Linked DNA regions of Homo sapiens: all the other regions are linked to region 3. Evidence: promoter capture Hi-C in 16 types of primary human blood cells and fetal thymus (Javierre and others, 2016). All regions are on one chromosome and are shown on one strand. Each heading gives the region's core, a stretch centred on a gene start or on the middle of the fragment in contact. The rest is flanking DNA. Distances are from core to core; before and after follow the strand shown. Region 1 has its middle 88 kb from the start of STMND1. Region 2 overlaps ATXN1 (ataxin 1). Region 3 holds the start of TPMT (thiopurine S-methyltransferase). Region 4 holds the start of ATXN1 (ataxin 1).

Region 1 (2,700 bases), core at 151-2,650, 1.1 Mb after region 3:
CCAGTGTGGGCAATATATTTTGCTGTAGGTGATTGGGTGTGTAGTGCACATATGAGCTGTAACTCTCACCTTAAAAATCTGTAGTTTCACTCCTAAGGCCTTTGAAACCACAAACCCACAGGGAGAAATGAGTAACTCCAGACAAGCTGCCTTGAGAGCTGTATCATTTATCACTTAAGTCTGAAGGAAAAAACTAAACCCATCCAAACAACAAACGGAAGAAACTGGACATACTGCTTTTAACACACGTGGGGAGGGTCTGTGGTTTCATTATTGAAGTCAGTGAGACCAAGAGTCCACCAATTCTGGTCAGACCTACAGTGAGTAGAGATCGTGTCTTTGCATTCCCGTTTGGGCTATGGCGCCAGATTGTCCAGAAGGAAAAAAAAGATGTTGTGATGCTTGTAGTTGCAGTGCAGTGGGAGACTATGGCAAGCGGATTGTGAGGTCAGGAGTTTGAGCCCAGCATGGTCAATACGGTGAAACCGTGTGTCAAATGAAAATACAGAAATTAGCTGGGTGGAGTGGTATGTGCCTGTAGTCCCAACTACTTGAGAGGCAGGTGAATTGCTTGAGGTTGGGAGGTGGAGGTTGCAGTGAGCTGAGATTACCATTGCACTCCAGCCTGGGCAACAGAGTGAGACTCCGTCTCAAAAAAAAAAAAAGTGTGAAGTTCTGAGGGTTTGATGTACAGCATGAATGGTGATACATTACTTCATTTGATTGTGGCAATCCTTGCACAATGCATATATGTCAAATAATTATGTTGTACACCTTAAATATGTTCAATTTTTGACAATTTTTTTTAAGCTTTGACATTAAAGAAAAAGTATGAAAAGGTGTCATCAGGGTTGTATTCCTTCTGGAGAATCTGCTTGCTTAACTTTGCTGGCTTATAGCAGCTTCCTGCACTTCACGGCCTTTTTTTTTTTTTTTTTTTTTTTTTTTTTTTGAGATAGGATGTCACACTGTTGCCTGGGTTGGAGTGCGGAGTGGAACCATCTCAGCTCAGTGCAATCTCTGCCTTCCGGGTTCAAGCAATTCTCCCACCTCAGACTCCCAAGTAGCTGAGATTATAGGTGCATTGCACCGCAACCAGCTAAGTTTTTGTATTTTTGGTGGAGACAGTTTCACTATGTTGCTCAGGCTGGTCTCAAACTCTTGAGCTTGAACGATCTGCCTGCCTTGGCCTCCCAAAGCATTTTCTTCCATCTTCTAAGCCACCAACATGACATCTTCAAATCTCTGTTGCCATCCTCGCATTTCCTTTTCTGACTCTGACCCTCCTGCGCCCTCTTAGAGGAACTCTTGTGATTTCATTATGCCCTTGGAGAACCCAAAATCTCAAGATCCTTAATCACATTCACAAAGTACCTTTTGTGATATAAGGTAACATTCACAGGTTCTGGGGACTGGGACATGGACATCTTCGGAGGGTCATCATTGACCTTTCCGTTTGTACCATAAGTACAAAGGGAAACAGTGTCACATAATAATTTCCTGTATGGCCAACTTTTTCTTGCCAATAGAAGGAAAGGAATTTGCTGATGCTGGTGTGAGTTCTTATTCTAACTCGCTAGATGTCATTCCAAATGCCTTTATCATTTTAAATACCAAATATATATGGCATTCCGAATGATGAGTAACAGGAGACTATAAATAGGCCTCAAAGGCTGGAAAGTCTTAACAACAGAGCAGGAAAGTCTAAAATTACTTAAAAATTATTAAAGTGCAGTCCCTTTGCTTAATTTTTTAAAAGTGTTAGGCCTTAGATGCTTAGGATAAAAAGCCATCACCATCTTGATATTCTCTCTACTTAAAGGAAATCCATGTCTTTTAAAATCAATGTCTTTAAAACCACTCATTCTTCATTAAATTGTTGATTTAACCAATCAGTGTCTACTGAGCACTCACAATGTGCTAGGCACTGCAGTGGGCACTGGGCATAATATTGACCAAAATCAATATGATTTCCGCCCTTATAAGCTTACAGTCTCGTGGGAGATAGGAAAAGCAAGGAAATTATTAGCACACTGTGCAATAAGCGTGTGATAGGAATGATTCTCACTGCCGTCCAGTTATACCCCAGTCTTAGTGCTGGGCACTGTCCCTTCCATTCCACCATTTCATTCCTGGGTGTCAGGGTCCCATCACCTTCTGTTGGAGGAAAAACTTAGGAGTATTCCAAGCGCTTGATAAATGGAAGGGAGCAGCAACCCACACATTTCAATGAGAAAGCAACAATTTACGTATTATAATGGAAACTGTCAAGGAGAAGATGCACCCTTTTGGGGTACTGTGTGGTATGCCCTAGAATGGCAATGAATGGTTAGCAGGCATTGGTTGGGCTTTAACATGAATCCTGGTGTTGTTCACTATACAGTTAGCGATTCTGATGCTTGCCCCACTGCTGTGTGTTTGTCCTGCTAGGTTGGCCTCTCATTCCCACTCCCACCTCCTCTAAGGCCATGCACTTCCCTCCCCCATCACGTTCCTGCTCCTCCACCCAATCTCCACTTACACGCAGGGTAGGGAGGGGAGGCTTCATTTTCTTTCATCCTCTTTCTTCTGTTATTTTTACGGTCTAAACTCTGTTCTCTGATTCCCTCAGGACATATCTTCAGATATTCAAAATCCTGTTTAGAAGTTTTTAAAAAAAGAAACACTGAACATTGACTGTTTCCTGCTTTTTAAATTCCT
Region 2 (2,700 bases), core at 83-2,582, 1.7 Mb after region 3:
CCCCAAAGCCTGTGCCATGGAGAACTGTTGCAGTAGAGAAGGCAGGCAATTTTCAAAGAATGCATGTTTGCACATAAACAGGGTCTAGGAGTGGGTGTATAAATGTGTGAGTGATAATCACAGCAGCCATTGGAAGTAGTGGTTCCCATGCTCAGCAGTCCTTGCAGATGTTACTCCTGGCATTCATTCCTGTGCATGTCCCATTAACTGCCTCTCAAATCTGCCACCACTTGCCAGCAGATGGCCTTTGCCCCTGAAGATGTTTCAGACTGGCTGTAAGGGCTGGGGGGAGGGGGGATCTTGTACAAGAAGAGAATGATGCTGACACTGAACTCAGAGTTAGCAGACCTGGATTTTATGCACAATGCTGTTGTTAGCCATATAACCTTGGGTCCTCTCTACCATGGGGACTCATTTTATGATGGACAACTTGAGAAAATTGAGTTAAATCACCTCCAGTGGTGGTTTTTACCCTAAGTGTCTCAAGTTGCATAAAGTATCAGCCTTAGATGAGGCCAATTGAACGTTTATTTTACCTTCTTGGGTTCCTAAAAATCAATGATTTGGCACTACCTCATTTACAACTGTTTTTAAAACATTGAGCACAGTCTTAGGGTTAAAAGAAAAAAAGAGTTATTACATCTTTCACTACCATGAAACCCTTTCCACAAGACCCTCCTGGGCACCATATGACAATTCAAAGGTATTTATTTGAGACTGTCCTTAGACTATAGCTTTAGCTGTTTAAATTTAGGGTCCACACTCATTGGTCCTTTTGAAAATAAACAGGAACGATTTTTGAACTTGAGTTTTCTAAAACCACCTCTGTGCTCAAATATTGGTTAGAGTCTAAGCAAGGAGAAAGTGATCCATATTTCATTCCTAAGCTTCTCTGCTTCCTTAAGTAGGAATTCTTGAGTTACCTTATCAAAGCAGCCTTCCCTGATCTACATAAAATAGCATCCACCCCATCCCTCTCAGTCCTCTAGCCTTCTGTGTTTTTCTTTTAAGCACCTTACATATTATATATTTATTTGTTAATCATCAGTCTCCTCAACTAGTCTGCAAGCTCTGCAAAAGGAGGGATGGTATTCTTATCCTTATTCTCATTCTTATTCTTCCCTGGTGAATGAATAGTACCTAAAATACTGCTTGTTCCCATAATGGGCAGTCAGTAAATATTCATTGAGTGAATGCCTAAATGACATTCACTAAGTGAATGCCTCTCATGTGTGGGCCTGAGCCATTAGGAAAAGGAACATACATGCTGTTCTGATGAGAATGCTTGAATCTGATAGCAGTTTAAGGGTGTGGGGAAGGGATGGAGAGTCTAGACTATTTTCCTTAGAAGTGGATACTTGATGTGTATAAAGAAATGTGAGGAGGGAACAATTTGTGTAAAAAAAAAAAAATTCTAGACCTATCAGTAGAGTTTGGGGATTTTCTAATACTTTTTTTAAAAGTCTGCACTGTCTGTATTTCCTCTCCTTTTCCATTTGAGTGGTTTGCTTTGTCACTTGTTTGTGAGCATCCTGCCCTGGCTTTCTGTGAACGGCGGTGGTTTTGTCTCTTATCATCACATCATTTCATCACTGCTTACGTTCATATTTCTTTTCAAAGTAGGGATGGGCCTGAAGTGCTGTATCTCCCTAGAAAGGGGCTGACTGAATAACACTTCATTCTAGTGCACACCTTAGAATGAAAAAATGGTGTGCTGGTACAAATGAAACCCATTTAATGTCTCTGTGGTGTGTGATGGGAAGTTCACAAAAGCTTTCTTAGGGAGGCATTGTGCTAGTTAGCTTTTGAGGACAGCAATAATAAAGGTTTCTGGAATTTTGTGTGTCTATGGACTCCCTTTTCAGAATAACTGCTCTGAGTGCAGGCATTACTTTATTCCTAGGAAGAAATGGAGAGACTAAAATAAATACCTCTGTACCTGTGTAAACAGCATTATGCTGTCTGTGTAAGTCTTAAAAAATGGGAGCTGAATTTCTCTTACTCTGAATCTCCAGACTAAGAGAATTGCACACACACGCACACTCTAATAAGAGCAATCTGGGAATTTCCCTCTGTGTCTGTCAGTTTGTACCTTTTAGATTTGCCATCTGTGATACCAAATTCTCCAGCGTTACAAAAAAAAAATCTGAAGTAGATAAGAGGGTCAGGAGAGAAGGGGAGATTCCACCACTTTTGGACAAGTGAGGGAGAACAATCTCCTTTTTCTTAAATCCTTGCTTGTAATGCTCCTGCAGATTGACCTACAGATTGTAAAGGCAGAGAGGTTATGACTGAGCTCATTCCATCCAAGTGCACTGGGGATAGCTTCAAGTCTTCTAGAGTTTTCTCTTTCACCCATTTCTCTCTCTTCCTCAGACTTCCTTGAATGGCTTCTGATTGACAGCTTCACTAGTTCCTGGCCATTGCCCCTGGTGTGTTATTTGGGATGGGCACCTTTGGCAGGGTCTTTGCAGGAGTCACTGCTTCTAAGAAGTGGTGTCAGAGCTACCTCCTGAGGCAACTGACAAAGCGTAGCCCATCCCAGGCACACCCTTTCCCCTCAGCACCTTCTTCCTCAAGTACTCAGCTCCTCCTCTCAGCATCTTGGAGAGGAGGAGGAAAATGCAAAGAACACCCAGACGTTGTGGAAGGAAAAAAGTTCATGGATCTTTTACAACATTTGTGTTCTATGGGGTGAAA
Region 3 (2,700 bases), core at 135-2,634:
TGGTCAAAGCCTTGAGTTATGTGTGTATACGTGGTGTGGGGGATTCCCCAACTGGAGTGGACTGGGGAGTCCTGCAGGCTTACCCAAGGGAAGACTGGACTTCTATGTGGCTGGTTTCCACATCACTGAACCCCAACTTTCTACAGCTGGGTCGGCCTCTTCCTTCCTCTTTCACCTGTCAGCTGCCCGGCCGTTGACTAACAGCTACCCTAATCGGGCCACCCCTCCTCCAGGTCTCCAATCCCAGAGGAGTTACCCCAGCAACCTGGCAATGCTCATCAAGTCTCAACGCGTGGTGGCTGTGCCAGAGAATTACTACAACACCTGCAAGGCTGTGCGGGCTCCTGGCCGCACCCTATCGGCCGGGAAGAACAAGCGAGGGAGTTCCTACTCCAGGACCGTGGGGTTCTCCCGCGGCTCTGACAGTCCCCAGGAGGGAGCCCCAAACTCCCGGTGCCAGCTGCAGCCGCCTCGCTTTCCGAGAAGCTTTCGGAAGCTTTTCGAAGTCGGAGAAGCAACTGCCCCGGGGCTCACCTTTGCGCTGAAGAGGTGCCGGGAGTCTCGGGGAAAAGGCACCGCTGTACAGAAAGGAAACATTGTAGGGGGGTTAGCCGACCGGCAACATCGCGACGAACCCGGCGACCCCACGCCCCAACACCCTAGCCCGGGAATTCCCCCTTCTTCAGACAGATACCCACCCCGCACCCTCTTTTAATCCGGGGCAGGAGGTATCCGTCCCTGGGGCACCCGCCCACCTCCCACCACGGCGAGGGGCGCTGCACAGGGGGAAAGGGAGGGCTTGCACCCCAACCAAGCTGCTTTGTGCAACGCTGTCACCCGAAATCCGCCACGGCCCCCACGCACGCCCCCGGAGTGGGGAGCCTCCCACCTCTGAGCGCCAGCGAGGCGGTGCGCGCCGCCCTGGACTGCGGGCGCCTCTCCGGAGCCGCGCGCCGCGCGCACAGGACGGCTGCAGCCGCGCCGCGAGCCCCAGCCTCTTCTCGGCCGCCGCCGCCGCCGCCGCTTCCGCCCCTGTCACGGCGTGACCCGGGGTGGGAGGAGCCGACAGGACTAGGGATGGGTAGGGTCCCCGCCTTCGCTTTAGCCGCAGCGCTCGCTCCGCCCTGCCCATTTCCGCCGCTGCGCAAACCCCGGCGCTTGGGGAAGTGGGTGGAGTCTGTGCAACGAGGTACGGGGCGGGAGTGGAGACGGGGCGCCGGGAGAGGGGGCGGGAACTGAGGCGGGGCGCGGGAAAGAGGCGGGGCGCGGGAAAGAGGCGGGGCGCGGGCGGAGGCGGGGCGCGGGCGGAGGCGGGGCGCGGGCGGAGGCGGGGCGCGGAGAAGTGGCGGAGGTGGAAGCGGAGGCGTACCCGCCCCTGGGGACGTCATTGGTGGCGGAGGCAATGGCCGGCAACCAGCTGTAAGCGAGGTAGGCTCACTCGGGCGCGGAGGGTGCGGGTGAGAAAGGGAACGATTTGCTAGGAGTGTATGCGCCCGTGCTAGGGCTCCCAGGAATTCTTACAAGCGTAGACAGCCTAGCAATCAGCCCTGTGAAGTGGGGTTCAGGGCAGAAGCGGAAACTGGGAATAACGAGGTCGGACAGTAAATGACCTGAATCCAATGTCCAGGATTTAAAGTGCTTCCAAAGCACTGGTGTGTTTTAATTATTTTTTTTTCTTTTTTCTTTTAGAGACAGGGTCTCCCTCTGTCGCCCATGCTAGCGTGCAGTGGCACAATCATAGCTCACTGTAACCTGGAACTCCTGGGCTCAAGTGATCTTCCCGCCCCAGCCTCCTCGGTAACTGGGACTACAGGCTCGCTGCACCACGCTTGGCTAATTTTTCAAATTTTTTTTTATAGAAACGGACTCTCGGTTTTTTCCCCAGCCTGGTGTATTAGTGATTTTTGGGAAAAAATAAGTACTGCCAAATAGTGAGTGATCCCTGGTGATGTGGGAAACTGGGGTGCTGTAAATATTCTGTCTTGCTCTGCGGTGGTTACACAGGTGTATGTATATGTAAAAAATTCACCGAGTCATACTCTTTTAAGATGTGTGCACCTTAGGAAAGTTTCTTCTCAATTTTATGAAATTTAAAAACAAAACTATAGCAGAAGCTTTTGAAAAGGTGAGAATGGAGACTAGAACAACTTGAGGACTTTGTTTGTGGGCAGAAATTTTTGTGAAATTTCCCTTCCTTAATTCTTGTAATGTGCACTTTTTTTGTATTATAGAAATAAACTTTATTTCTCTAGAAATGATGTATACAAGTGGAGTCCATGCTGAGAAACTGTTAGAACAGCTAAGACGTTGAGCCCAGGAGTTTGAGACCAGCCTGGGTAACATAGCAAGACCCTGTCTCTACAAAATATTTAAAAATTAGCCAGGCATGGTGGTGCACCCTTATAGTCCCAGGTACTCAGGAGGTTGAAGTGAGAGGATCGCTTGAGCCCCAGTGTTGGAGACGGAAGTGTCATTACACCACTGCACTCCAGCCTGGGGGATAGAGAGAGACCCTGTCTCAAAAACAAACAACTAAGACATGATTAAGTTATGTGCATGATTTTGTTAGACAGTTCAAGTTTGTGTGAAAGGAATAGAGTTGTGCTACTCCAGGCTGCTGTGGAACTCTGATAAAGATTATGCTTCTCTTTTAAGTAGAGAACTGCTTTATGAAGCCTTGAATTTAGGTTCCAGAGTTTC
Region 4 (2,752 bases), core at 1-2,500, 1.4 Mb after region 3:
CCGCACTGAGCGCCCTTAGTCTGGAGGCGCCTCCTAGTCCTCCAGGTGCCACACCTGTTGGCAAGGTGCACCCATCCGAAGAAGATTCCTTCGCGTGGAGGTCACACCTGGCGGCGAGACAGGCGGAGGGGCGGGGTGGTGGGAGTCGGAGACCGCACTGAAACCCTGAGTCCAGATTTAAGTTCCTCGTCGATTCTCGAGAACTGCCATTTGATGCTCCGGTTGCTTTCTCTGTCTCCTACACTGGTTACCTCATTTCCGATTAAATTAATGATCCGAAATTAGCTGCGAGAGGAGTGCGCGGGTCTCCTTTCCAGGCTAGAGCGGAGTAGTTCCATATCAAAGCCGATTTCCGGACCTGCGTGCGAAGAGAGAAAGAGGGCAGGGTCGGGCGGTCGCCAGCGTTCGCCGGCAGGAAAGGTGAGGGTACCTGTGCAGTCGGGGGACCCCTTGAAACTTTCCGGAGTTGCACGCAGAGGCAATCCCCGCGGCCCCCAGGCCTGGGTTCCGGAACGCCGAAGCGACGCCGGTTTGTGGCTTAACGTGCAGCTGATGATCAGAGTGAGCCCTCTCAGATGCTGCTCCGAGCGCCTGGGACCAAGGACACGTCGGGATTAGAATGGGCCGACCTCCCCTCCCCGCTGGGGTGTTGCATCGGCTCCCAGCTGAAGCCTGACAGCCCTTGGGGGAGTCCCCCAGGTTGCCTGAGTAGCGCCCCGTTGTCGTTCAGTCCCCTCCAACTAGGTGCAGGGACCCAGGGAGGCGCGCGAGGACCGACCCGTCACCGCTCAAATTACCTCATCGCCCAGCTCCCCGCCCCCTTCCCAAACCTGGAAGGAACCTTGCCCTCCGGTCCGCGTCTCCCCTCCCCCGCACCCCATCCCGAGCCACTCTTTGGGAAAGGTGCCCGCCTCCCCGGGCGGCGCGCAGCGAAGGGTTAAGGGCGCGGGCCGGCCGCCGCGCGGTGCGCTCGCCGTGCTCTGTGCGGCTCGCCGGGCCGCCCGCCAGAGGGTGCCCCCCACCCCCATGAAGTCGGATCCTTGAGCTGCGGCGGCGGCAGCCAACTGCTCCATATTTGGCTTCTATTACACATTTACATACTGGAGCGAGCGAGCGAGCGAGCGCGAGAGAGCGCGAGGGAGGGAGGGAGGGCGGGCGGGCGGAGGGAGGAGGGAGGGGAGGGGAGCGGGAGGAGGGGGAGGAGGAGGAGGAGGAGGAGGAGGAGAGAGCAGAGTATACCGCAGACATCATTTCTACTACAGTGGCGGAGCCGTACAGGACCTGTTTCACTGCAGGGGGATCCAAAACAAGCCCCGTGGAGCAGCAGCCAGAGCAACAGCAGCCGCAAGACATTGTTTCTCTCCCTCTGCCCCCCCTTCCCCACGCAACCCCAGATCCATTTACACTTTACAGTAAGTGACTATTTTTTTTTCCTCCTCCGATTCTTTCCCCCCTCCCCCATTCCCTTCTCCCCTTATTTAGATTAAAATCCCTCCTCCCCCGATCTCCCGAGAGGGGCAAAAGCAACAACCAGCAAACAAACCCAAAACCCCAATCGGCTGCACGGAAAACAGCTGGAAGAGGAGCGAAGGAAATCGACGCGTCGTGTTCTGTGTGTGTGCGTGTGTGTGTGTGTGTGTGTGTATGTGTGTACATACAACCGTCCCCGGCTCCAGGCTCCCGGGCCGACACCCCCACTCTGGGCGCAGGGGCGGCCGGCGGGGGGGCTGTCAGGGGCTGGGTGGGCGCCCGCCGGGCTAGGGGGCGCGCCCGGGCGGGGGGCGCGGGCGGGGAGAGCGGCGGCGGCGCCCCGCTCCCCCGGCTGCTGGTCCGGTCGCAAGTGCGGAGAGCCATGTCCTCCTCCCTCCGGGTGGCGCAGGGGGGAGGCGGCGGCTGGGGTTGGGGGGTGGTCCCTTTCCCGGCCGCCCTCTTCCCATTCCTCCTCCCCGGAGAGGGCGGTGAGAGAGAGGGGGTCTCACGGAGGGCTGGACTTCTCCGCGGGTGGTCGCCCGGCCTCGGCGCCCTGGGGCGGGGGTCTCCCCTCGGAGGGCCGGCCTCGCCGGGTGTGCGGCTGCGGGCGGGGAAGGGACTGCTCCTGCAGCCGGGACGGGACTTTGCGCGCGGCCGGGTGCCGGGCGGGGGGCGCAGAGGGGTGGCCTCGGGGACCGCGCGGGGGTAGCGGGTGTGCGGGTGCCTGGAGCGCGGCTGGAGTGGCGGTGACGGCCCTGGCCGCCGCCGCCACCGCCGCCCTGTTGGTGCGGCCGCTTCCTGATCATGTGCAGCGGCAGCCGCCGCCCGGAGCCGGGAGCCCGCGAGCGCCCCAGTCCGGGCCGGCGCCCCCGCCAGCACCCGCGGCAGGAGACGAGGAGCCGCGGCAGGCGCTGCCCTGAGCCGGGAGTGAACGGCTGCGCGGCTGCTGGGAGGGTGAATGAAGCCAGGAGGAGGGGAAGGAGGAGGAGGCGGCGGCCGCCGCGGAGGAGGCGCTGCGGGGATTGGGATGCGCCCTGGAGCCCCACTGCTCGTTCACTCTGGGCCGGGCCGGAGACTCTGCCACTCCCGGGGGCGCCGCCGCCTCCTCCTACGTGGTTCCAGTGCTGCGCGCAGGCCGGTCCCGCAGGGGGCAGGGAAGGGGGCCGGACGGGCGGAGCGAGAGGTGAGGCGGTGTCGGAGCGCGGCGTGAGTGTGAGTGAGTGTGTGAGTGACTGTGTGTGTGTATTTGTGCGCGCGCGCGCCGGGCGGGGGGCGAGGGCCG

What was found. Contacts are between HindIII fragments. The CHiCAGO score rates a contact against its expected background, and 5 or more counts as called.
Region 1: a fragment that was not itself captured here is called in contact with the fragment with the promoter of TPMT in region 3 in 1 of 17 cell types (total CD8 T cells); the score reaches 5.6 in total CD8 T cells.
Region 2: a contact is called between a fragment that was not itself captured here and the fragment with the promoter of TPMT in region 3, in 1 of 17 cell types (fetal thymus). The highest score is 5.0, in fetal thymus.
Region 4: a contact is called between the fragment with the promoter of ATXN1 here and the fragment with the promoter of TPMT in region 3, in 6 of 17 cell types (naive CD4 T cells, total CD4 T cells, total CD8 T cells and 3 more). The highest score is 18.4, in naive CD4 T cells.

The regions. Positions count from the first base shown.
Region 1 is chr6:17,012,799-17,015,498 of GRCh38, reverse strand. No RefSeq gene overlaps it. Among named protein-coding and RNA genes, the nearest start is that of STMND1, 88 kb to the left of the region's middle. The HindIII fragment of the contact is 1,176 bases long and covers 813-1,988 here.
Region 2 is chr6:16,480,725-16,483,424 of GRCh38, reverse strand. The region is part of intron 6 of ATXN1 (ataxin 1); the gene reads left to right. Among named protein-coding and RNA genes, the nearest start is that of GMPR, 240 kb to the right of the region's middle. The HindIII fragment of the contact is 886 bases long and covers 890-1,775 here.
Region 3 is chr6:18,153,761-18,156,460 of GRCh38, reverse strand. It overlaps TPMT (thiopurine S-methyltransferase), which reads left to right and starts at 1,384. Exons shown (of 9, transcript NM_000367.5): 1 at 1,384-1,428. KDM1B (lysine demethylase 1B) reads right to left here and starts at 1,039. Exons shown (of 22, transcript NM_001364614.2): 1 at 890-1,039; 2 at 535-578. RefSeq lists an enhancer at 99-338 and a silencer at 779-1,338. The HindIII fragment of the contact is 1,618 bases long and covers 499-2,116 here.
Region 4 is chr6:16,759,958-16,762,709 of GRCh38, reverse strand. ATXN1 (ataxin 1) reads left to right here and starts at 1,250. Exons shown (of 8, transcript NM_001128164.2): 1 at 1,250-1,412. It overlaps ATXN1-AS1 (ATXN1 antisense RNA 1), which reads right to left and starts at 1,572. Exons shown (of 3, transcript NR_136240.1): 1 at 1,544-1,572; 2 at 431-591; 3 at 1-358. RefSeq lists an enhancer at 1-796 and silencers at 797-1,116, 934-1,149, 1,157-1,316, 1,793-1,922, 1,993-2,472 and 1 more. The HindIII fragment of the contact is 4,299 bases long and covers 1-2,752 here.